Linked DNA regions of Homo sapiens: all the other regions are linked to region 2. Evidence: promoter capture Hi-C in 16 types of primary human blood cells and fetal thymus (Javierre and others, 2016). All regions are on one chromosome and are shown on one strand. The core of a region is centred on a gene start or on the middle of the fragment in contact, and the rest is flanking DNA. Distances in the headings are between cores, read along the strand shown.

The links. The method cuts DNA at HindIII sites, captures the fragments that hold promoters and counts their contacts. A CHiCAGO score of 5 or more calls a contact.
Region 1: a fragment that was not itself captured here is called in contact with the fragment with the promoter of IGFBPL1 in region 2 in 1 of 17 cell types (endothelial precursors); the score reaches 6.7 in endothelial precursors.
Region 3: a contact is called between a fragment that was not itself captured here and the fragment with the promoter of IGFBPL1 in region 2, in 1 of 17 cell types (M2 macrophages). The highest score is 7.2, in M2 macrophages.
Region 4: a fragment that was not itself captured here is called in contact with the fragment with the promoter of IGFBPL1 in region 2 in 2 of 17 cell types (endothelial precursors and M0 macrophages); the score reaches 5.2 in endothelial precursors.
Region 5: a contact is called between a fragment that was not itself captured here and the fragment with the promoter of IGFBPL1 in region 2, in 1 of 17 cell types (M0 macrophages). The highest score is 6.1, in M0 macrophages.
Region 6: a contact is called between a fragment that was not itself captured here and the fragment with the promoter of IGFBPL1 in region 2, in 1 of 17 cell types (endothelial precursors). The highest score is 5.2, in endothelial precursors.
Region 7: a contact is called between a fragment that was not itself captured here and the fragment with the promoter of IGFBPL1 in region 2, in 3 of 17 cell types (endothelial precursors, M0 macrophages and M2 macrophages). The highest score is 6.1, in endothelial precursors.

What each region holds. Positions count from the first base shown.
Region 1 is chr9:37,657,746-37,660,952 of GRCh38, reverse strand. The region is part of intron 1 of FRMPD1 (FERM and PDZ domain containing 1); the gene reads right to left. Among named protein-coding and RNA genes, the nearest start is that of FRMPD1, 8.4 kb to the right of the region's middle. The HindIII fragment of the contact is 4,057 bases long and covers 1-3,207 here.
Region 2 is chr9:38,423,155-38,426,131 of GRCh38, reverse strand. It overlaps IGFBPL1 (insulin like growth factor binding protein like 1), which reads left to right and starts at 1,678. Exons shown (of 5, transcript NM_001007563.3): 1 at 1,678-2,167. The coding sequence starts at 1,708. LOC105376041 (a long non-coding RNA gene) reads right to left here and starts at 1,521. Exons shown (of 8, transcript XR_007061487.1): 1 at 1,382-1,521. RefSeq lists an enhancer at 1-633. The HindIII fragment of the contact is 4,043 bases long and covers 1-2,895 here.
Region 3 is chr9:37,471,060-37,474,327 of GRCh38, reverse strand. No RefSeq gene overlaps it. Among named protein-coding and RNA genes, the nearest start is that of ZBTB5, 7.2 kb to the right of the region's middle. The HindIII fragment of the contact is 3,362 bases long and covers 1-3,045 here.
Region 4 is chr9:37,675,602-37,678,655 of GRCh38, reverse strand. All of the region lies in intron 1 of FRMPD1 (FERM and PDZ domain containing 1), which reads right to left. Among named protein-coding and RNA genes, the nearest start is that of FRMPD1, 26 kb to the right of the region's middle. The HindIII fragment of the contact is 1,644 bases long and covers 946-2,589 here.
Region 5 is chr9:37,606,477-37,609,847 of GRCh38, reverse strand. It overlaps a transcript of FRMPD1 not described here. Among named protein-coding and RNA genes, the nearest start is that of TOMM5, 16 kb to the right of the region's middle. The HindIII fragment of the contact is 259 bases long and covers 1,638-1,896 here.
Region 6 is chr9:37,584,090-37,587,493 of GRCh38, reverse strand. No RefSeq gene overlaps it. Among named protein-coding and RNA genes, the nearest start is that of TOMM5, 6.8 kb to the left of the region's middle. The HindIII fragment of the contact is 4,406 bases long and covers 1-3,404 here.
Region 7 is chr9:37,639,606-37,642,959 of GRCh38, reverse strand. It overlaps a transcript of FRMPD1 not described here. Among named protein-coding and RNA genes, the nearest start is that of FRMPD1, 9.7 kb to the left of the region's middle. The HindIII fragment of the contact is 2,386 bases long and covers 87-2,472 here.

The DNA of each region.
Region 1 (3,207 bases), core at 367-2,866, 770 kb after region 2:
AGAGACCAATGAAGGCAGCTGGGAGCCAGATGCAGCTAAGGAAGTAGTCATAGCCATGCATTCATTCATTTCATCGGTCAACACTGTACCCCCCAGGCCTCCTTCTGGGCTCCGTACTGAATGAGCAGCAAGGCTCGGTCCCTGCCCAGGAAGCTCACAGTCAAGTGGGGAAGGTTACACAGCAACACCCCATGACCACACTGTCTGGGGAGTATTGCCTTGCAGAAATGAAAGTGCAGGAGGGAAGGCTCCCAAAGTCTGGAAAAGATATCCCAGATAAAGCATCATATTTTGATGTGGGGATATTTTGAAGTGGCTATACCAAACAAGCCTTGTCAAAATGGAAAATCACTGTTCTTTAAACCCATTGTTTAAACCTACTTTAAAATCACTGTTCTTTAAGAGAAATGAGAAGCGGAGGTCTCTAAGCAGTGCAGTCTGAATATCTTCCTTACTAGATGGTCCTTAAGGTCCCTGTAAGACCTGAGCTTCTTCCAGTGCAGCTCCATCGGATGATGACCAGGAAGGGGGCCACCTGAGGTCAACTTTGGATACACTGTTCTATCCATCTTTCTCTTCTTTATCTCCTAGTCACCCACTAGGGCTCGGTTCAAATGCCAGTCCCTCCCAGAAGCCCTCCTAGATCTCCCTGCAAGGCATGGCCAGCCCTTGCTAGGCTCCCAAGGGTCTCTGCAAAGCACAGCACCCTGCCCAGCACTGACTTACTTCCAGCCGCAGGTGGGGCAGGGACTGTCTGATTCATCTCTCTCCTCCCTCCCCGCCTCTCCTCCCCAGCCCCTATCCCCACACAGGCCTTTCTTAGCAAAGCACATTGAAATGAGTGCAGCAGCCATCTAGGAGGATGCCGTCGGACAGGAATCCTGGGGGCAGCAATGAGTGGAGAGTCTGGAGCTGCTCAGTGTCCAGAACTTCCCAGGCCACTACCCTCCCCCTGCTTTCTCTCAGCTCCACTACTAGCTTCACCAGACGCAGCTCTTCTGCTTGCCCCTCAGTTTTGTTTTTTTTTTTTTTTTTTTAGTGCTTGAAAAGTCAACTGCAAACAAAGCAGCGCACTCTCTTTGTGGAGAAAAGCACATTTTAGTGGGAGTTGCATTTGGAGAGCCCAGAAGCCAGCAGCAGACTGGAGATCACACTTAAAGGACCATGGAACTTCTGAAACAGGCTAGTTGTAGGGCAAGAAGATGATACTACTATGCCCTTACAGGGTTGTCAAGGAGCATTTCCTGATTTTTTACAGAGTATTTGGGCACTGAGAATATAATTTCCCTCAAATTCAGTGAGCCAATCTCAGTCTAAATTAGTGGGAAAATGTGAAGACATAAGTCTTCCACTATGTGTCCCTTCTTTGTCCAGAGCACATTCACTGTGGGATCTTCCCTACGTCTGAGAACCGGCAATGAATATTTTAATAGCCACAGCTTCTCCTTCCCACTGACAAAACCTCCACTGGACTCGCCATAGCATGCTGGTGGAAATGAGGGTATGCACCAGAAAGACCTGAGCTTTCTCCTAGGCAGCCTAATCCCTGAGGGCCCCACCCACATCTGTACAACAGGAGTGATAGGAACAGCCCCGGCACCCTTCAGAGCAGCAGCCAGGATGCTGAAGGAAGGAGGAGACAGAAGACATGTGGCCTGAGGATCTGAGGCCAGTGACCCTGGAGAGCTGGGTTCAAATACAATAGAAACAAAAGGGAGTTGCAAAAGTAGAGAAAGTAGAGAGCCAATGGCTGAATGGCGGCCACCCTAAAAAGATATCCAAGTCTTGGCTGGATGTAGTAGCTCACACCCGTCATCCCAGCACTTTGGGAGGCTGGGACAGGAGGACTGCTTAAGCTCAGGAGTTTGAGATCAGTCTGAGCAACATAGCAAGGCCTCATCTCTACTAAAAATAAAATTTAAAAATTAGCCAGTTGGTGTGCGCCTATAGTCCCAGCAATTTAGAAGGCTGAGGTGGGAGGATCACTTGAGCCCAGGAGATCAGCACTGCAGTGAGCTTGATCATGCCACTGCACTCCAGCCTGGGTGACAGAGCCAAACCCAGTCTCAAAAATAAATAAATAAATAAATAATTCCAAGTCCCAATCCCAGGAACCTGTAAATGTGATCTTATTTGGAAAAAGGATTTTTACACCTATAATTAAATTAATGATCTTTAGATGACGTGCTTATCCTTGGATTATCCAGATGGACCCTAAATCTCAGGACAAGTGTCCTTATAAGAGTGAAACAAAGATTTGAAACAGACAGGAGGAGGCAACGTGACCAGGGAGGCAGAGACTGGAGTGATGCAGCCACAAGTCAAGAAATGCCAGTGGGCACCAGAAGCTGGAAGTGACAAAGGAAGGATTCCCCTTAGAGACTCCAGTGGGACAGCAGCACTACCAACATCTCGATTTTGTACTTCTGGCCTCCAGAACTGTTCAAGGACACAGTTCTGCTGTTTTAAGCCAAGATTGAGGTGATTTGTTACAGCATTTACAGGAAAAAATACAGCACCTAAGAAGTAGTCAGACAGATGAGGGATCTGAGTCCCAGAGAGGGGGCTCACTCACCCGACCCCACGTCAACCACTGGGCCAGGACACTCGGGTCTCTCTGACGCCAAAGTGCATGCAGTTCCGTAGTGGCCCAGTGCACAGCTCAGAAGGGGGACCCACCGGGACCTAACTGGCCTCAGGCTGTGCTAACGCAAATATAGATTCCGAAGTGAGGCTGCAGTGGGCTTGCTCCTGTCTGGGCTGATCAGACCCCCACCTGCACAGCGGTGTCCCATTCTTAGCTTTTCAGGGGGCCAGATAAAGTGGGCATTCTGCCTAAAGAAGTGAAGATGTGGGGGCCTGATCCCTGTCTTTGAAGGTCCAAGTGGCCTAACTAGCTGTCATAGGGAAGAAGAAATGGATTTTTTGTGTGTGGGGCTTCAAAGGACAGGATCGGGCCAATGGGGCAACCATTGCCGAGAGGAAGATTTTTGGCTTGGAATAATGAAGAACTTTGTAATAACCAGAGCCAACTGAGGATGGAATAGGAAGGTGGTGGGGGTTGGTAGGTCCAAGCAGAGGGAGGCTGGGTATGCTAGGGGAATTCCTGCACCACACAAAGGCTGTACTTGATCATCTCCGGAGCTGGCAGTCTTGTTTGAGGGTCTATGCTGGTAGCTAAAATATCTGGAAACATATGTGTGAATC
Region 2 (2,977 bases), core at 429-2,928:
TCACACATAGTGATCATTTTTTTAGGAGAGATTCCTGGAAGAGCACAGAGGGGTCAAGCGGTGAGAGCACTTTAAAAGGCCACTCCTGGTAAAGACAGCAGCCTCCAGGTTGAAAGTCACTGTTGATAGGTTCTGAGAGCTGCGCTGAGTGCATTACCAACATTGTTATATTTATTCCTTACCACCACCCCTTCATGGTGCCTAACCGCCCCTGCTCTGTGTGGCTGATTGTAAGGTAAGGCCTGGCGTGGACCAGGCAGATGGCCCTCCTCTGACCACCACATAAAGTGGCCTCAGAAGAGGCTCCTTTCTGGGGATAAGAAGACTGCAAACTGGGAAGGAACTGGGCTTGAAAAGCAAAATGAACCCCACCCAAGAACGGTGTAGCTGGTCTTCCCAGGCTGCAAGAGGCTTTCTCCATCTCCAGGAGTTCAGCAAAGAAAAAACAATAGAGCACAAGACACATGAGGGGTGGCCAGTAAAGGCAGGAAAAGTCTCCTATAAAACCTGCTCAGCGAGTCCCTCCCTCCATCCAGTGCATTTACCCAGCAACACATCAAATCCCAGCAGCCAAGACTCTCTTAGGTTTCTCGTCTGGGTGCCCTGCCAGAACTCAGGCAGGATGGTGTGCACAGAGCCTGGCCCAGAGAAGGCGCAACGGCGGCATGAATAACTGACTACAAGAAACTGCATCTTTCCAACATGCATTCCCCAGTAAGCCACAGGTACACTGACCCTTGTGCACCAAGACTTCATCAAAGCATTATTCGTATTAACCAAAGGATGGAAAATAAGTGGTTAAATAACTGCAACTAAACCCTGTGGAAAGGCCACTCTGTATGAACTCCAAAATATATCACCATATCTCATCACAACAAAGTCACTGTGGACGGAGATGTACCATGACTTTATGCAGCATTAAGAAACACACTCACAGAGCCAATGAACTATGCTCCCATTGATTGTATAAGAAACCCAGTTTCACAGATGACAAGAGGTGGGGAAACTGTGAAACACTGTAAGTGCAAAAACCAAGTGCAGACTAATGTGTATGGCACGCTACTCTGTGTGTGTGAGAGAGAAACAGAGTGTGTGTGTTTTAAAGGAAGGGGCTTTTTTAGGCACATGTACTTTTATAGGCATAGAGAAAATTTCTGAAAAGATATACAAAAACCCGATAGCAAGAGTGGCCTCTGGAAGCCGAGTTGGAGGATGGGGATACAAGGTGGTAGGGTAACCCTCTTTTCATCCTTAGATGTATATGTAAAATCTACATTTTAAACCATATATTCTCTTTATAAAATAAAACTTTGAAAACTACTGAATGCAAAATAAAATTAAATAAAATAGCGCATCCTTCTGGGAGGATTTACGGGCATACTATCTGGAGCCAGCCTTGGATCCGGAGACCGTACGGTTATCCAATCCTGACTCTGCCATAGCGACCTCGGGCAAGTTGTCGCCCCGACTGGGTCTCGGTTCCCTCAAGAGTCCAATCGGAGGTCGGAGAGCTGCTCTCGGGGCGACCCTCCAGCTCGGAGACCCGGGCCGCGGGCACCGCGCGGGTCCCGGGCTGGAGCAGCGGTCTGCGGGCGCCCCGCGGTGCAGGCCCGGCCAATCAGCGGCCGCGGGGCGGGAGCGGTGACTGCTCGGCGGGCGCGGAGCGGAGCGCGAAGCAGAGGCGCCGCCGCTGTCCCGGAGCAAGCCATGCCGCGCTTGTCTCTGCTCTTGCCGCTGCTGCTTCTGCTGCTGCTGCCGCTGCTGCCGCCGCTGTCCCCGAGCCTTGGGATCCGCGACGTGGGCGGCCGGCGCCCCAAGTGTGGTCCGTGCCGGCCAGAGGGCTGCCCGGCGCCTGCGCCCTGCCCGGCGCCCGGGATCTCGGCGCTCGACGAGTGCGGCTGCTGCGCCCGCTGCCTGGGAGCCGAGGGCGCGAGCTGCGGGGGCCGCGCCGGCGGGCGCTGTGGCCCCGGCCTGGTATGCGCGAGCCAGGCCGCTGGGGCAGCGCCCGAGGGCACCGGGCTCTGCGTGTGCGCGCAGCGCGGCACCGTCTGCGGCTCCGACGGTCGCTCGTACCCCAGCGTCTGCGCGCTGCGCCTGCGCGCTCGGCACACGCCCCGCGCGCACCCCGGTCACCTGCACAAGGCGCGCGACGGCCCTTGCGAGTTCGGTGAGTCAGGGTCGGGGATTGGGTGGGTAGAGAAGGAGGGATTCCAACCCTCTGGGGTGTGGAGCGAAGGATCCCCCTGCCCAGTGGTGGACGGCGCTGCCTGGCACTCAGTTTCCCCTTAGGGAGCAGTATTTCATATCTCTCCTCGTGCTCAGAGAGACTGGGGCGAGAATCCTTGGAGACGCCACTCACTGTGCTAGTCGAATTTTTGGTGAGCCTGCTACCCCTTTTGGTACTTAAGTACCTGCTGATGCAGTCACTTATTTGTAGGCATGGTATGTTTGCCCAGCAGGAGACTGGGAGTTAAGGAGGGGGATCCGAGTTCCCAGGTATCCAGCGCTAGGTGGATTGTTTGAATGGGGAGGAAGGGAAGTTGAGGTTGGGGGAGGAAGGGAAGTAGAGGATAGGGGAGGAAGGGAAGTTGAGGATGCAGGAGGAGGATGAGTTCCAGACTGGGGAATCAGTAGTCACCAGGCCACAGCACCAGAGCACCAGGGCCCCCGGTGTGGGAAGGGGCTGAGCTGGGATGCTGAGGGAGCTCCATCCAGGAGAAGTAAGACCTTTGGAGACGTAAGGTCTGAAAAGATTGTGGTGCTATTAGGGGCAGACTCAGGTTTCGTGCTTCTAAAACATATATAATTTGGAGAGTCCTGCCTTAAGTAAAGGAATAGAACTGCTAGGGACTTAGAAACTTATTATGAAATGCTAGGGACTTAGAAACTTAAGCTTCATTAACATCACAGTAAAATAATCTCTGAGTGCTATAGTTGCCCACCCTCTTTATGTACCTTTTGAAAACCAAACAAAAAG
Region 3 (3,268 bases), core at 115-2,614, 950 kb after region 2:
TATCCAAGATCAAGGCGCCAGCAGATTCAGTTCCTGGTGAGGGCCCCCTTTCTGCCTTGTAGACAGCCACCTTCTTGCTGTATCCTCACACGACGGAGAGAGAAGCTCTAGTGTCTCTTTCTCTTATTTATTTATTTATTTATTTATTTATTTATTTATTTATTTTGAGGCAGATTCTTGCTCTGTTGCCCAGGCTGGAGTGCAGTGGTGCTATCTCGGCTCACTGCAACCTCCGCATGCTGGGTTCAAGCGATTCTCTTGCCTCAGCCTCCTGAGTAGCTGGGATTACAGGTGTGCACCACCACACCTGGCTAATTTTTGGGTTTTTAGCAGAGATGGAGTTTCACCATGTTGGTCAGGCTGGTCTTAAACTCCTGACCTCATGATCTGCCTGCCTCAGCCTCCCAAAGTGCTGGGATTACAGGTGTGAGGCACCACTCCATCTTCCTCTTCTTTTACAGCCACCAATCCCATCCTGGGTGCTCTACCCTCAAGATCTCATTTAAAGCTAATTACCTCCCAAAGGTCCCACCTCCTAATACCATCACACTGGGGGTTAGGGCTGCAACACATCAATCCAGGTGGAGGAGACACAAACATTCAGTTTGTAACAATGTCCCAATGGCTAAATTTGGCCTATTTTTATATAATCCTTGGGCTAAGAATGTTTATACATTTCTTAAGAGTTGCAAAAACAAAACAAAACAAAAACAAAAGGAGGAAGAAAAATATGTGATGAATATGCAACAGAGACCACTTGCAGTTTGCAAAGCCCAAAATATTTACTGTCTGTCCCTTTATAGAAAATATTTGCTGACCCCTGCTCTAGGGTTTATAACATGCATCTTTGGCCAGGCATGGTGGCTCATGCCTGCAATCCCAGCACTTTGGGAGGCCGAGGTGGGTGGATCATCTGAGGTCAGGAGTTTGAGACCAGCCTGACCAACGTGGTGAAACCCCATCTCTACTAAAAATACAAAATTAGCTGGGCATGGTGGCACACACCTGTAATCCCAGCTACTAGGGAGGCTGAGGCAGGAGAATCGCTTGAACCTGGGAGGCGGAGGTGCAGTGAGCCGAGATTGAGCCATTGCACTCCAGCCTGGGCAACAAGAGTGAAACTCCATCTCAAAAAAAAAAAAAAGAAAAAAAATGCATCTTTAAAATATCCGTGTACATAGAGATAATATTACACCATTTCACATACAATGTAAAAGCCTTTCTTTTTTTTTTTGTTTTTGAGACGGAGTCTCGCCCTGTTGCCCAGACTGGGGTGCAGTGGCACAATCTCGGCTCACACAGCCTCTGCCTCCCAGGTTCAAGTGATTCTCCTGCCTCAGCTTCCTGAGTAGCTGGGACTACAGGTGCCTGCCACCACTCCTGGCTAATTTTTTTGTATTTTTAGTAGAGACGGGGTTTCGCCACATTCACCAGGCTGGTCTCGAACTCCTGACCTTGTGATCCGCCCACCTCAGCCTCCCAAAGGGCTGGGATTACAGGCGTGAGTCACCGTGCCCGGCCAAAAGCCTTTCTTTTAAAGAAATTGAAAAACAAACAAAATCTTATTTTTATTATTCAGCTTTAGTCAGAATTTGAATGTTTCCCATCTCTGTGTGATTTTTCAGAATTGTTCTTTGCCTGGCCTATTTTAGAGTTTCATCTTACTCATACACAGTTTGGTAATCACTAACAGACTGTGGAAGATTCCTAGGAAGAATTTCTGGAAGGCTTTTTATGCCTAGGTGCCTCTTCTCCAGTAATTTACCCTGCAAATTCCTGCTGACTCACTCTCTTGGAATTCCAATCTCTCTCCTCAAATCAGTGGGAGACTACCATGCTCTGTTTGAACTCTCCTTCCTGTTTCGTTGTCCAGAAAGTGTCTCCGGGAAGAAAACTGGAGCAATTGTAAGGCTCCCTTGCTTTTGTTCCCCCCTCTCTCAGGAATCACTGTTTTGTGCTGCCTACTGTCCAATGTCTAAAAACATTATTTCACCTTTTTTTTTTCTAGTTTTCTAGGTGTTTACTCACGGAGGACAAGTACGGGAGCAGTTAGTTACTCTGTTATAGCAAAAGTGAAAGTCTCCTCATTCTTTTTTTTTTTTTCTTTCCTCAATTTTTTTTTTTTCTTTTTGAGACAGGATCTCACTTTGTCGCCCAGGCTGGAGTGCAGTGGCATGATCATGGCTCACTGCGAGTGCAGTGGCATGATCATGGCTCACTGCACCCTTGATGTCCCAGGCTCAAGTGATCCTTGCACCCAGGCTCCCAAGTAGCTTGGACTACAGGTGCACGCCACCAAACCTGGCTAATTTCTGTATTTTTTGCAGAGATGGGGCCTCCCTATGTTGCCCAGGGTGGTCTTGAACACTTGGACTCCAGTGATCCTTCTGCCTTGGCCTCCAAAAGTGCTGGAATTACAGGCATGAGCCACTGCGCCCAGCCTCCCTCAATATTTTGTTTAACAACTTCATAGATTCAATTGTATGGATGTACTCTAATTTATTTAGTTAGTCCTCACTGATGAATTGTTTGTTTTGGATTGTTTTTTAATACAAATAATGCTGCAATAAATAACTGTGCATATGTGATTTTATACTTGTGTATATGTGTGGGATAAAATTCTAAAAGTGTGATCTCACTGAGTAAGAGATTATTTGTAGATGAATTTTTGCCAACTTAAGATTCAATGATTGGAGCCCTACAGATTAACTGAAAAAAGACAGATTGACAGAAGAAAAGACAAGTTTATTCATGTATGTGGAAGTGTACAGAAAAAGTGACACTCCCTACAGTTAGAGTTAAGGATTTATGTATCATCTTAATAAGGAGAGACAGGACCTTCAAGGAAGAGAGTTCGGACTTCAAGGGAAAGCAAATGGTGAGAAACTAGTGAGAAACAAGTGAAAGCAAAGAAGTGGAAGGTACAGACAATTCTGATAACCTTTTGTTTATGTAATTTCTCATCCAGGTGCAAATGAGCTATCTCCTTTCTGGTTGTAAACCACCTGGAAAGGGGATTTGTGATGGTTGTATTTTCAGGAAGCTTTGGATAAATCAAGGAAAGAAGCTTAGATAAGATTTTTTCTTTATGGCTGCTGTTTGTTAGATGTTTTCAGCTTAAAATAATCTCCATAGCACATCAGTAGTTCTGAGTGGATTCCATTAGTAGATACTGCCAAATTGACTTCTGTAGAATCTGTACCAATTTCTACTCCCACTAGCTGTGAATAAGAATGGCTGCTTATACCTAAACCCTTGCAAACATGGC
Region 4 (3,054 bases), core at 518-3,017, 750 kb after region 2:
CTACTCTTGTGGAGCTTACATTCTAATACAGGTTCTCACTAGACAAGAAACAATGAACAAAAAAGGAAATTAAGACTGTTAGAAAGTGGTAAGTACGCCGGGTGTGGTGGCTCGTGCCTGTAATCCCAGCACTTTGGGAGGCTGAGGTAGGTGGATCACTTGAGATCAGGAGTTTGAGACCAGCTTGGCCAACAGGGTGAAACCCCATCTCTACTAAAAATACAAAAATTAGCCAGACGTGATGGCACATGCCTGTAATCCCAGCTACTTGGGAGGCTGAGGAAGGAGAATCACTTGAACCTGGGAGGTGGAGGTTGCAGTGAGCCGAGATTGCACCACTGCACTCCAGCCTGGGCAACAGATTGAGACTCCATCTAAAAAAAAAAAAAAAAAAAAAAAAAAAAGTGGTAAGTACTAGAGGGGAAAAGAGATAGAATCAGCATCGATGCCTTGAAGCTGGAGGTCATGGGTAGGCAGAATTTTATTCACTCTGAGATCTCCCACACATATCTCCAGAGAGCTCTAGGGTTCTGCCCTTTCTTTCCAATTCTCTGAGTCAAATCTCCAGCCAAGGGCTTAGCCACGACACATCTGGACAAATGTCACCATGGGTCCTGTTTCCATTTCTTCCTCTCTGAATCAATGCTAATATCCACAGATTCAAGAAACACTCAATGATCATCAACAATTTGCCAAGTACAGGGGCTGTGGGGGACACTGAGATAAGCAGGCACAATTCTCACCCTCAAGGAGCCTGCATTTCACCAGGGAAGTCAGACACATACACACCTAATCAGAATTCAAAGCAAAAGAAAGGAAGTGATCTGCTAGCAATGTGAGCAAAGGTTGCAAGGTTTTTGAACCATGGTCTGTAGTTTTCAAAGCACTCTCATGGGCAGATGATCTTGTTTGGTGGTCACGTCATGGTATTCCTCCTTCCAAGCTTTCACAGTGCACTACTGGACTCACAGTTCTTCCCCAGTGACCTTTCATGTCAACAGCACAGGCCTTATCATGTCCTAGTTCCAACCCCGACTCTCACTAACCTTGTGCTAACCTTGCATCCTTGGACAAGTTCCCTTAGCCTCCCTGAGCCTGTACTGTCATCTGTGAAATGGGGCTGACTTCACCTGCCCCACAGTAAATTAGATAATATATGTGAAGTTCTACCAGAATGCATGGCACAAAGAAAGTCCTCAATGACAGCAGCTATGATGTTATTCTTCATTTCAGAAGGTTAGACTCCCAGAGTTCTAGCCCATATGAAGCTGCTTGCCACCCTGGTGGGCTGAGATTTGACTCCACATTTCTGTGTCTGGGTAAGGAAGGCAGGATTACAAACCTATCATACTAATAAACAGTAACAACCACCACCACAGCACAAGCAACCAAGAATGGCTTGCAGGGCTGGGCCCAGGACATGCCTCGCAGAACTCTTGCCCATGACTATGACATCAAGGCTCTGTCCTGACTTTGAGGTTCCTTCCCTGAAAGTCCTCACCCTTTTCATAGACTTGTTGCTGGCCATGGGTTTGCGGGCCCCTAGACTCTGCATTTTTCAATTCCAGTCCCTGGACTCTAGACTCTACTTTACAGGTCTGCAGCCATCTCAAATTAAGGGATTTGGTCCAAAAGTAAATGCAATTCGTTCCATTAGATCCTCTTTCCTCTGGGATCTGTGCTGAGTGTGGTAGAGGAGATCAAGATTAAGCAGACACAGCCCTTGCCCTTTGGGTGTTCATCGTGTTATAGAGAAGACAAGCCACATAGAAAACTCCTAACCAATATAAGGCAGAGAGTGGGGCCCATAAGAACGGGCTGTCTAAAATGCTATAGGGAGTCTAGGAAGAGCTCCTGCCAACAGCAGGGCAGTGTGTGTCTCGCTCATCTCTGCATGGGGCTTAGGAACGGCTGATTGCTGTCAGGCGGCCAAGAATGCCAGATGCCGCCTGCCAATCAGAACCCTATGCAAGGGTTCAGGCCAACGGGCCACTCTGGCTGTCTTAATTAAGCCCTAATTAAGCATTCTATCCGGAAACCTCTTCTCCCTCCTGTAGGGCTGCCCAGTTTACAGCAAACAATTCAGGGAGCCGGGTCAGCTGTTAGGAGGTGGCAGCCAGTAGGAGTGGCACCAACAGCTGTGAATGAATGCCAACTCGATTCAGAGATCGCCGAAAACCGCAGGACCCAGGAACTCAGAAATTCAGCCCTAATTAAGCATTCTGCCCTCTGTCCCTAACCTCAGTAGAGAAGTGTCCAGTTTGAGTCACCCCACTTTAAAAGTACATAGAGATGATCAGGGCTGGGAGTTCTGCCTAAGGAAAACAGGAAAACACTATGCAGCAAGATGCTCCCCGAGACACGAGCTCTAGGAACGAAAAACAGAACTGGCCACAGAAGCATGCTTACTGCATGTCTTCTTCCTTGAATTTCCAAAAAATGAGAACCAGAAACCATGTAACATTCCAGAAAAAGCCTTTTCTGGATTTAATGTGAGTATAAACCACAGGCCATAAAGCCATATCTATGCTCTGGGTACAACTGTAAAAGTGATGCGGAGCGCAGACAGGCGAGAACACAAAACAAGCTTGATCTGATGGATGCTGGGTTTAGGCAGCCAATTCTTTTTGTTTCTATTTTAATTCCCATTGTTACTGTTTGTGCAGCAATGATACCTCTTTTAAGGATTAGAGAGATGATCTCTCAGAAGAGAATCAAAGCTTTACAGGTTGAAGCAAAGGTTCTCCAGGGAGTGGCAACAGGACAGGTGAACACACACCAGTTCGAGCAGCAGCAGGTGCACACCTCGTTTTGCCCTGGCACTGCGCCCTGTGTGGCTCTCAGCAAGTCTCTTCTTCTAATACCTCCATTTCCATCTCTAGATCTAGAAGGATTCTAAGGCCCCTGCCACCTCCAAGTTCATAATTCTGACTGGTGGAGAGGTCAGATCAGAGGTCTAATCTATTCTCTCATGTGCAGGCACTCACCAGCCCATGCTGGGACACACCTGTGGCACCTACATCATGAGCACCATTAAACACCCTACTCTCCCCA
Region 5 (3,371 bases), core at 518-3,017, 820 kb after region 2:
AGGAAGAGCAAGGAGGCTGGAGCCGAGGAAGCTAGTGAGGAAGGCTGAGGGAAGGACAGCCAGTGAGAGAAGACACGGGCCCGTGGAGCCTTTGTAGCCATTGTAAGGGCTTTGATTTCCACTCTGAGTCAGATGGGAAGCCGCTGAAAGGTTTTGAACTTGCATTTTAACAAGAGCACTTTAGCTACCATGATGAACAGACTTGAAGGGGGTGAGGGCGGAAGGTTACTGCAATCATCCGGGTGAAAGAGGATGGTGGTTTGAAGCAGGGAAGTAACAGTGGAGGAGTGAGAAGTACTCTGATTCTGGATATGCTTTATGAAGGTGCAGCAACAGGATTTGCTGACCAGATTGGATGCAGGGTTTGAGAGAAAGAGATGAGTCAAAGATGACTCCAAGGTTTTGGGCCTCAGCAACCTGAAGGCTGGACTTGCCGCTACCTGAGATGAGGAAAACTGAAGGGGAGGAAGTTTCTTGGGGGCAGAGGAACGAGAAGGGAATATTAGGAGCCAAGTTTTAGACATTTTAAACTTGAGATACTTTTTTTTTTTTTTTGAGACGGAGTTTCGCTCTTGTTGCCCAGGCTGGAGTGCAATGGCGTGATCTGGGTTCACCGCAAACTCCGCCTCCCAGGTTCAAGTGATTCTCCTGCCTCAGCCTCCCAAGTAGCTGGGATTACAGGCATGTGCCACCATGCCCGGCTAACTTTTTGTATTTTTAGTAGAGACGGGGTTTCTCCATGTTGGTCAGGCTGGTCTCGAACTCCTGATCTCAGGTGATCTGCCCGCCTCAGCCTCCCAAAGTGCTGGGATTACAGGCGTGAGCCACCATGCCCGGCCTGAGATGCCTATTAAACATCCAAACAGAGATGTTGAGTGGACAGTTGGATGTTTGGTCAGGAATTCAGGAGCACGGTTGGACTGTAATAATATTCATCTGTAAAACTGGGATAATATAATAACACCTACATAATAATGCTTATTATTGGGAGGATTAAACAAGACAATCCATGTGAAACTTTCAGTGTACACAGGGCCTAGCACACAATACGCCCCCAATACATTTCAGCTATTATTCTTATTGAAATTTAAATACTCTTAGTATTTTTATCATTACTATGAAGTTATGAATATGGTTGCTTTTAAGATTAATAAGTTGTTTCTGTGTCAATTCCCAGGAATGATTTGCAAAAGAAAACTAAGTCTTGCCAGGCACAGTGGCAAGTGCCTATAGTTCCAGCTACTTGGGAGGCTGAGATAGGAAGATCACTTGAGCCCAGGAGTTCAAGTCCAGCCTGGGCAACATAGTGAGACCAACTACCCTCCCCCCATCTCAGGAAGGAAGAAAGAAAGTGGAAGGAAGGAAAGAAGGAAGGAAGGAGGGAAGGAAGAAAGGAAAAGAAAAGAAGGAAGGATGTAAAGGAAGGAAAGAAAGAAAGAGAGAAAGATAGAAAAAAAAAAAGAAAGAAAGAGAAAGAAGAGAAAGAAAGAAAGTAGGCAGTGCCTTTGAAATTGGTTTCTAGGCCCCAGAGTTCAAAACTTTGAAGAGTTGGGCATGCATCCTAGTCCTTATAAGTTATGCCATGTTTCTTAAATAATCAGTATGTTACTTCATCAACCCAGAATTTATGTCAAGCTTTGAAAAGGGTTTGACATGGAGAATGAGGCAGTTTATCAGGAGAAATTGAATACGAGCAAGGACCCTGTGGGGAAGACATTCCCAGCCTGTTCACGTAGCCTTCGTGACACAGGGTTTAAATGCAATGCAGCATGAGAACTGACTACCCCGTCTCGCCTTCAATAGCTATAGATGTTATCGCTGGCCACAAGTTTATCTGGCTCCTTTTAAAATTGATTCACAAAAGCCACGACCCATGTCTTCCTGAAATAGCAAGCTTCTCAGAGGAACTTCCCTTGAAGAAACACACTCTTGCTATCGTCTATTAATTTATTCAGTGATCTTTAGCTGTTTTATGTTGGGGAAGTAGAAACAAGAGCTGGTATGGTTTTATTACACATTTCTAGATCTTTGAAGCAGCGAGCTTCTAACATCAAAACCTAAACCATGAGGTTTCTCATTATTTTCACATCTCTTTGAATTTTGACTATAAATCCCCGACCCTGTAATTCTCCTTAATATCTATGACAGGCTTGATGCTCAATAACTACCTATTAAGAATCCTCCTAATCTCCATTTATATGCAAAGGAAAGAGGTGTTGAATGGTTCAAACAATCCAAAAATGCTTGTGTAACAAATAGATGACTAAGGTCACATACAATCACAGACCTTGTTTGATGAATTTAGCAATGGCAACACAACCACAAGGATACAGGTGGATGTACCAGTGAGAGAGAGAAGGAACAGTAACACAAAGGAGGCGCTTTTTCCCCTAATCCTTGTTTTTTTTCCTTAAATGAGGTCACATAAACTGAACTGACTGCTGCTAATGAGGAGGTCATTGCTCAATTAAACTTCATGAAACACCACTTTCATTCCTTTCCCCGGATTCTTTTGTTTCTAATGATTTTTTTGAGATGGAGTCTCACTTTGTCACCCAGGCTGGAGTGCAGTGGTGTGATCCTGGCTCCCTGCAACCTCCGCCTCTCGGGTTCAAGTGATTCTCCCTGCTTCAGCCTCCCAAGCAGCTGGGATTACAGGCACGAGCCACCATGCTTGGCTAATTTTTGTATTTTTATTAGAGACGGGATTTCTCCACGTTGGCCAGGCTGGTCTCGAAATCCTGACCTCAGGTGATCCACCCGCCCCGGCCTCCCAAAGTGCTGGGATTATAGGTGTCAGCCACTGTGCTCAACCATGTTTCTAATGATTTCTACATTCACTGTCACTATGCTTCAAGCAGTGGCTTCATGTGAAAAAATAATAAAAACAAAACCCTTCTCCCTTCTCCCAGGAGTCAAGGACTAACCCCTCAGGGTCTCATAGCCCAGAATGACATGTGAAGGGCCAAGGACTCCCTTACATCTATGGTTCCCTGCAGACACTCCTACTCCAGCCTCTCTCTGGCTGTGTGTCCCAGAACTCTAGGTGGAGGAGAGCTAAGCAATCCAGGAACTGATCATTCTGAACTGAGCCAGTCAAGCTGATCTGTGGCAAGAACTTAATAAATTTCTATCCTGTATCTGTTTTTCTGGTTTAAAGGGAATCTTTTTTGTTTTCTATTAATTTTAAAGTAAATTTTAGTTTTATATTTCCAGCCAAGCTAAGAGGGAAAAGAAAAGAGTTTTGTGCATATTCAGCGTGGTGGTGCCAGAAGAAAACGCTATTTAGCAAGAGGTGCTTTATACACCAACCTCTCTTTGGCTTTAAAATTTAGAACTCAGGGCCACCAGAAAAATACAGGTATCTTTTT
Region 6 (3,404 bases), core at 123-2,622, 840 kb after region 2:
GCATAGGAGGTGAATGACCTTGCTGGTCTAAAAATGTCTTTTTTTTTTTTTTTTTTTTTTTTTTTAACACGGAGTCTTGCTCTGTCAACTAGGCTAGAGTGCAGTGGCATGATCTTGGCTCACTGCAACCTCCACCTCCCAGTTCAAGCGATTTTCCTGCCTTAGCCTCCCAAGTAGCTGGGATTACAGGCACGTGCCACCACGCCTGGCTAATTTTTGTATTTTTAGTAGAGACAGGGTTTTGCCATGTTGGCCAGGCTGGTCTCGAACTCCTGACCTCAGGTAATCTGCCCACCTCAGCCTCCCAAAGTGCTGGGATTATAGGCATGAGCCACTGTGCCTGGCCTTAAAAATGTCTTTATTCTATAGTTTGATGAATATAGGGTTCTAGATTAGCAATCATTTTCCTTCAGAATTTTAAAGCAAAGCCTCTAGCTTTCAGTGTTGCTGCTGAGAAATCTGAAATCATTCTGATTCCTGATTTTTTTGTGGGACTAAGTATTTCTTCCTGAGAAACAAGGATCTTTGTTCCTAGTATGCTTATATTCCATGATGACATCATTTAGTGTGTGTTTATTTTAATACACTGTGGTGGGCACTTGGTGAACCTATTTAAACTTGAAACTTGTATCTTTATTTCTCAAATTTTGTAGGTTTTAAAATAATTTTATTATTTTTTATGGGTATGTAAGTGTATATATTTATGGGGTGCATGAGATATTTTGATACAGGCATACAGTACCTAATAATCACATCAGGATAACGGGATTATCTGTCACCTCATTTATAATTTATTTATGTTACAAACATTCCAGTTATACTTTTAGTTATTTTTAGATGTACAGTAAATTATTATTGACTGTAATCACCCATTATGCTATCAAATACTAGAACTTATTCATTACATCTAACTATATTTTTGTACCCATTAGCCATCCCTGCATTCCTTCCCTAACCTTTCCTAGCCTCTGGTAACCATCATTCTACTCTGTCTCCATGAGTTCAGTCGTATTAATTTGTAGCATCCACCAATGAATGCTTATAGGTTTTTATTGATTTCCTCCCCTTCTTTTTCCTTCTGCTCTCTTTTTAGAACAATAGTACTTTTAATGTTTTCTTTTTCCTTTATATTCTATTTTATCTGTAATTGCTTTTCTCTTTTTTTGTTTCATGTTAGATGCTTTCCTTGGTTGTCTGCTCACACTTAAAAATTGGGAACTAACATGGATTAAAGGCCTGGAGTGGAGCTTGTTGATGTTGAACTTTGCCAAAGGGCCATCTATTGGGCCATTTTTGTTGAGAAAACTTTTTGCGTCTGTATCTTTAGTTATTTCCCATTGAGCTGGTCATTGCTCAGAGAACAAAGACTCTTCCAATCTCCCAAGTGCTGAATGAGGCCCTGCCAACGTTCTGGGATTCAAAGGAATAGGGCTGTGGTGAGGCTCAGGACAGACAGGTGTGTGTGTGTGTGTTTCAATATCCAGTATGTATTTGCTCACTGCGTCTCTGTTTTGAGTATAGTACCTCTGCCCAAACTGCCTGGCATCCCATAATCTAGAGACCTTCTATTTTACCCTTTTCAGAAAATAAACTTTTTATTTTTTGGAGACAGAGTTTTGCTCCAGGCTGGAGTGCAGTGGACGATCTTGGCTCGCTGCAACCTCTGCCTCCCTGACTCAAACGGTTCTTGTGCCTTAGCCACCTGAGTAGCTGGGATTACAGGCGCACACCACCATGCCTGTCTAATTTTTGTAGTTTTAGTAGAGATGATGTTTCATCATGTTGGCCAGGCTGGTCTCGAACTGCTGGCCTCAGGTGATCCGCCCATCTCAGCTTCCCAAAGTGCTGAGATTACAGGTGTGAGCCACTGCACCTGGCCTAAAAAAAAAAACTATCATTTTGAGAGGGTACTGTGTAATGGAGGCTGTTTTGCTGCATAGAGTTGCAGAGAGCATCTGATTACTTAAACCTTGCACCAATTCTTATTTTAATGTCTACCCTTCTACCCCTTATTGCTAGAGGCACCTGAAGCCACTAGTTTCTGAGCCTTTTAGGGATTCCATGATATAAATTAGGTTGTGAGTTTTTGTTGTTGTTTGGGGGTTCTTGTGGGTTTTTTTCTTTTTCTACCGCTGGCTCAGAATTCAGTTTTTCAGAGTCTACTACATTATTTACTGTTGATCTACCTATTTTCCAGCTTCTAACGTTTTATTCCTGTTTCCTCTTTTCTTCCATCCTTTTAGGTTTATATCTTAAAACAAAAACCTTTACCGTCATTTAATGGGATTTTTGGGAGGGAGTGGAGGTAGGTATACGTGCTTCATCTACCATCTTAACCTGGAAAGCATGTATTTTAATTCTGTGGTTTTGTATTTATTTCTTAAATTAAGAAGGTGTAGTGTATGGCACTGTGGTCATATGAATACTGGCTCTAAAGACAGGCAGACTTGATTTTGAATGTTGGCTCCAATACTTACGAGATGGGTGATTTTCAGCAAGTGAGCTCCGAATCTCATTTTCTTTAACTATAAAATTAGGATAATAGAAACATCTCTCTACTTCAAAGTGTCGTAAGGATTAAGTGAAAAAATGCAAGTAGAGCAGCTGGCACAATTGCTTGACATTTGGTAAATGTTATTAATGGCTAGTCTTTGGTATAAGGCATTTAGAAGTGATTTGTGCTGGCATTCACAGCATAGACAGATCTCATTCCTATTTCCAGATGCTCTGAGATAGCATACTCATCCTCTAATTGTGTACAAACTTCAAACTTACCAAACACTTAAGTTCATTATCTAAAAATAGCCTTAACCAATCAATAATAATGCCATTTTACAGGTGGAGAGGTTGAGACTGCAAGTTTCAGTGGCCAATGAGTAGCAGCTGGCCAAGGCCTAGGGGACTTTTTTTTTTTTTTTCATTTAAAAAAATTATTTCTAGTCAGTCTGTGCTTATCCAGGGGACTTTTAATGTTTATTTATTCCTTGTACCCCATCCTTACATGCTTTTCTTGGAGGAAAATAGTGTAATTGTTACCCTGGATTCTAGTGTATGTTCAGGCTGGAGTAAGAGAAAATGTGATGGTTCAGTTTTTGTGACCAGCTTTTTAACTTTCAGGCCATAAACGCCACAGAGGGGCTCAATACTTGGAATAAGCAGTTCTAAAATAGTACATTAAGAAACAGTTGGGGAGATATATACAGTTTGTTTGTTTGAATATGTAACATGAAATAAGAAAGAACCATAGCAAATTTGAGTTTGGTAAACTCTTGAAAGGGGTACGTTGAAAGAAATGGGGATAGTGAAAAATGTTTATTCTCCACAAACAGGTTACCAGCTTAGTAGGAATGCTGCTCCTAAGTTAAGGTAGTGTACTTCCTGCTGTCAGTGCAACATTAAAAAAA
Region 7 (3,354 bases), core at 30-2,529, 780 kb after region 2:
TAAAAAGCCCAAGTACTCCACAGGGAGGCAGGAAAAAGAAAAAAGAGGAGTGAGAAATGGGGAACAAACAGATGGGAGAGAAAGCTTCCAAGACTTTCCCCTGTGCAGAAAGAAAAGAAATAACAACATAGCAGAGTTAAGTGCTAACATTTTAGTAATTATATTAAATGTAAATAATCTAAATACACCAATTAAAAGACAAAGATTGGCAGAATGGATATTTAAAAATATATCCTGGTGAAATTTCTGAACTCCTAGAATAAAGAGTAAATGTCATGAGCTTCCAGGCAATGTGAATAGCTTACCGAAGGAGGAAACAGAGCCCTCTGGAATTATGGATCCCACAAATCGTCCTTGCCAAATTTTATTGAGACCTAATATTTGTTAGGCACTGTTCTAAGCGGTTTATCTCATTTTAATAACCCTATGAATTATATATTAATATCCCCACTTTATAAATGAGAAAACCAAGGCCAAATGTTCCCCTGGTCACTCAACTAGTAAGAGCTTGGATTCAAATCCAAGAAATCTAGTGAAAGAAACTAAATAATAAGTCCAAGTCAGCTATTGAAGGGGAGAGGGATGATAGAGCTTCCAGGCAGAGAGAACAGCCTATGGGAAGGCTCTAAGGATGGAAAGGAACACCTATTAGATGCTATGTATTTTTAATATACTAACACAAAAACTCCAACAAGCAAGTATCATGTGTCTTTTTTGCAGACAAAGAGACTCTACATGGTTAAGTAACCTGCTCAAGATCATCCAGATAGCTGGTGTTGGTGATTGAGTCAGAATTTAAATCTGGGAGGGTTCTGCTACCCTCCTCTGTTCTGTCAACAGGTGAAAACAGCTTTTGGAGCATATTTCCCATGGTGATTGTCTTTCTCACTCCAATAGTTTTGCTGTAGTGATCCAGAAATTTAAATTTTAAAGAGCAAAGGGCCTGTCCTACCTTTCTAGGTTATTTTGGTCAAGCCTGCTCTGGGTCTGAGAGATCTTCACCTACAAAACATAGAATTGGACTATATCAGTGTTTTTCCAACTTTGGTAGGATTCTATATTCAACTCAAATCCTACTAAACAGAAGCCCCTTGTAGAGTACAGGCATAAGCAGAGTAAATCTAAATGAAAGTAACTGGGGGATGTTGGGGAGGCACTAGACTAGCCTGGACCCCCTCCAGCTAACACATTCCCTAAATTCTGGAAACAGTGCATGGACAGTCCCCAGACGCAGGGGAAAGTCTTGGAAGGTTCCTCTCCTATCTTCGGTGTAGGATAGGGAGAGGGAGGGATGATCTAGATTTTCTTAAAAACAAGGCTTTATTCATGTTTTGTTACTATGTACTGTGTACTGCAACACTGTGTCAGCCTGTTCTTTGAATCAGAGGGGGATGTTCTGGAAAGGATCTGGGCCGTGGAGCCAGAGGTAGCTTGAATGCCAGCTCTTGTTAGCTTTATGACCTTGGACAACTAATGTAACCTCTCAGTTTTCTCATCTTAACACACAGATAATACTGACCTTGAAGGGTGTTGTGAGAATTAAATTAACTAGTAAGGATAAAGCACCTAGCACAGGCTCTGGGGTGTTGCAGGCATTCAATAAATGGCAGCTATTGTTATACATTTTGAAACTCCCAGATCTTGACACTTTTAAGTCTGCCTTGTCTTTTGAAACTGGTGGAGTTTGGGTCTTTCTTTCTTCCTTTTTTCCCTTCATTCTTTTTTAGGCAAATTGACTGGTATTAAGAAAGATGATACTTCTTGCAAAGGAAGTTTCCATAAAAATAACATGGTCTGTAATCCCAGCACTTTGGGAGGCTGCGGTGGGCAGATCACTTGAGCTCAGGAGTCCAGGACCAGCCTGGGTAACATGGCAAAATGCAGTCTCTACAAAAAATACAAAAGCAAGCTAGGCCTGGTGGTGCATGCCTGCAGTCCCAGTTACTCAGGTAGCTGAGGCGGGAGGATGGCTTGAGCCCAGGAGGTCAAGGCTGCAGTGAGCCCAGATTTTACTGCGCTCCATTGCACTCCAACCTGGGTAATAGAGCGAGACCCTGTCTCTAAATAAATAAATAAATAACATGGTGACTTATGAAAAACCATGTACTTATTGATGCCACTGAAGACATTATGTGTTATTTTCATAATCTGGATCCTGATTAATGACCAGTACACATGCTGATTAACCTGAAACCAAAGAGCAAATACTCACAAAATAATTCATTGTTAAAACATAATTTTTTTTCAAAAATAAAGGATGATTTTATGAGTCTACTATTGACAGACAAAGATAACCTTACTTCACAGCCTTCCTGTCTTAAAATAAGTAATGTCTGGTGCATCATTATGTAGTTGGAGGCCTAGCCCGACCTTCCAGAGCGTAGGAAGCCTAGGAGTATACTTTACTGAAGACTAAAATCATGGCAGATTTCCTACAATGGACCATGAATTCCTGCCACCTCCCATGAAGCTTAATGGGAGAACATTTCAGAGCATATGGTACTTTGTCAACTGATACTAATGTGTCCATTAGTGCAGCTCCAGAGGGAATTTCAGTCTGTGCCCAGAGAATGGTCACTTGGGGAACAGAAATAGCTACTTATTTAACCCCTTCTTCCCCCATAACTCTGTCCTCGGTTCAGCCACCCCCTCCTGCTTCAGCCCTACCAGGAACAGGCATAGAATAGGGGTATGCCATTAATGGCATCTGTGTTACCTACACTGAACCATAATCCCTTAACACGCACCACCTTGATGTCCTTTGGAGCCCTTATGCAGACAATATCTCATTTGACCTTCATAATACTCCTGAGTGAGGTATCGGTATCCAATTTCACAGCTGAGGAAAACAGGAACACACAGCAGTTAAACCATTTGCTTGAGGCCAGAGGTAAGTGAGTGACAGAGCTATGCTTAGTCCCAGTGCTATTCCCCAAACTCATGCTGGCTGTATAGAGGCATCTACTTGGCCTGACTGAGTTCTGTGAATTGTTTTGCAAGGTGTGGCCCAGATTAAGTATATGCAATTCTGTTCACTCATTCAAGTAAAATTTTATTTTTTACTTGAGCTCAGGAGTCCAGGACCAGCCTGGGTAACATGGCAAAACGCAGTCTCTACAAAAAATACAACAGCAAGCTAGGCCTGGTGGTGCATGCCTGCAGTCCCAGTTACTTGGGTGGCTGAGGCGGGAGGATGGCTTGAGCCCATAAGCTCCCAGCTTATGGGTAAGGCACTGTGCTAAGTGAGGTGGAATAGTGTCCTGGGAAGTGCATAGACACTGGAGTCATCCAGCCCATGGATGTATGGACATCCTGGCCTTAGTAAGTGCTCATAAAATGCTAGTTACTTTTACT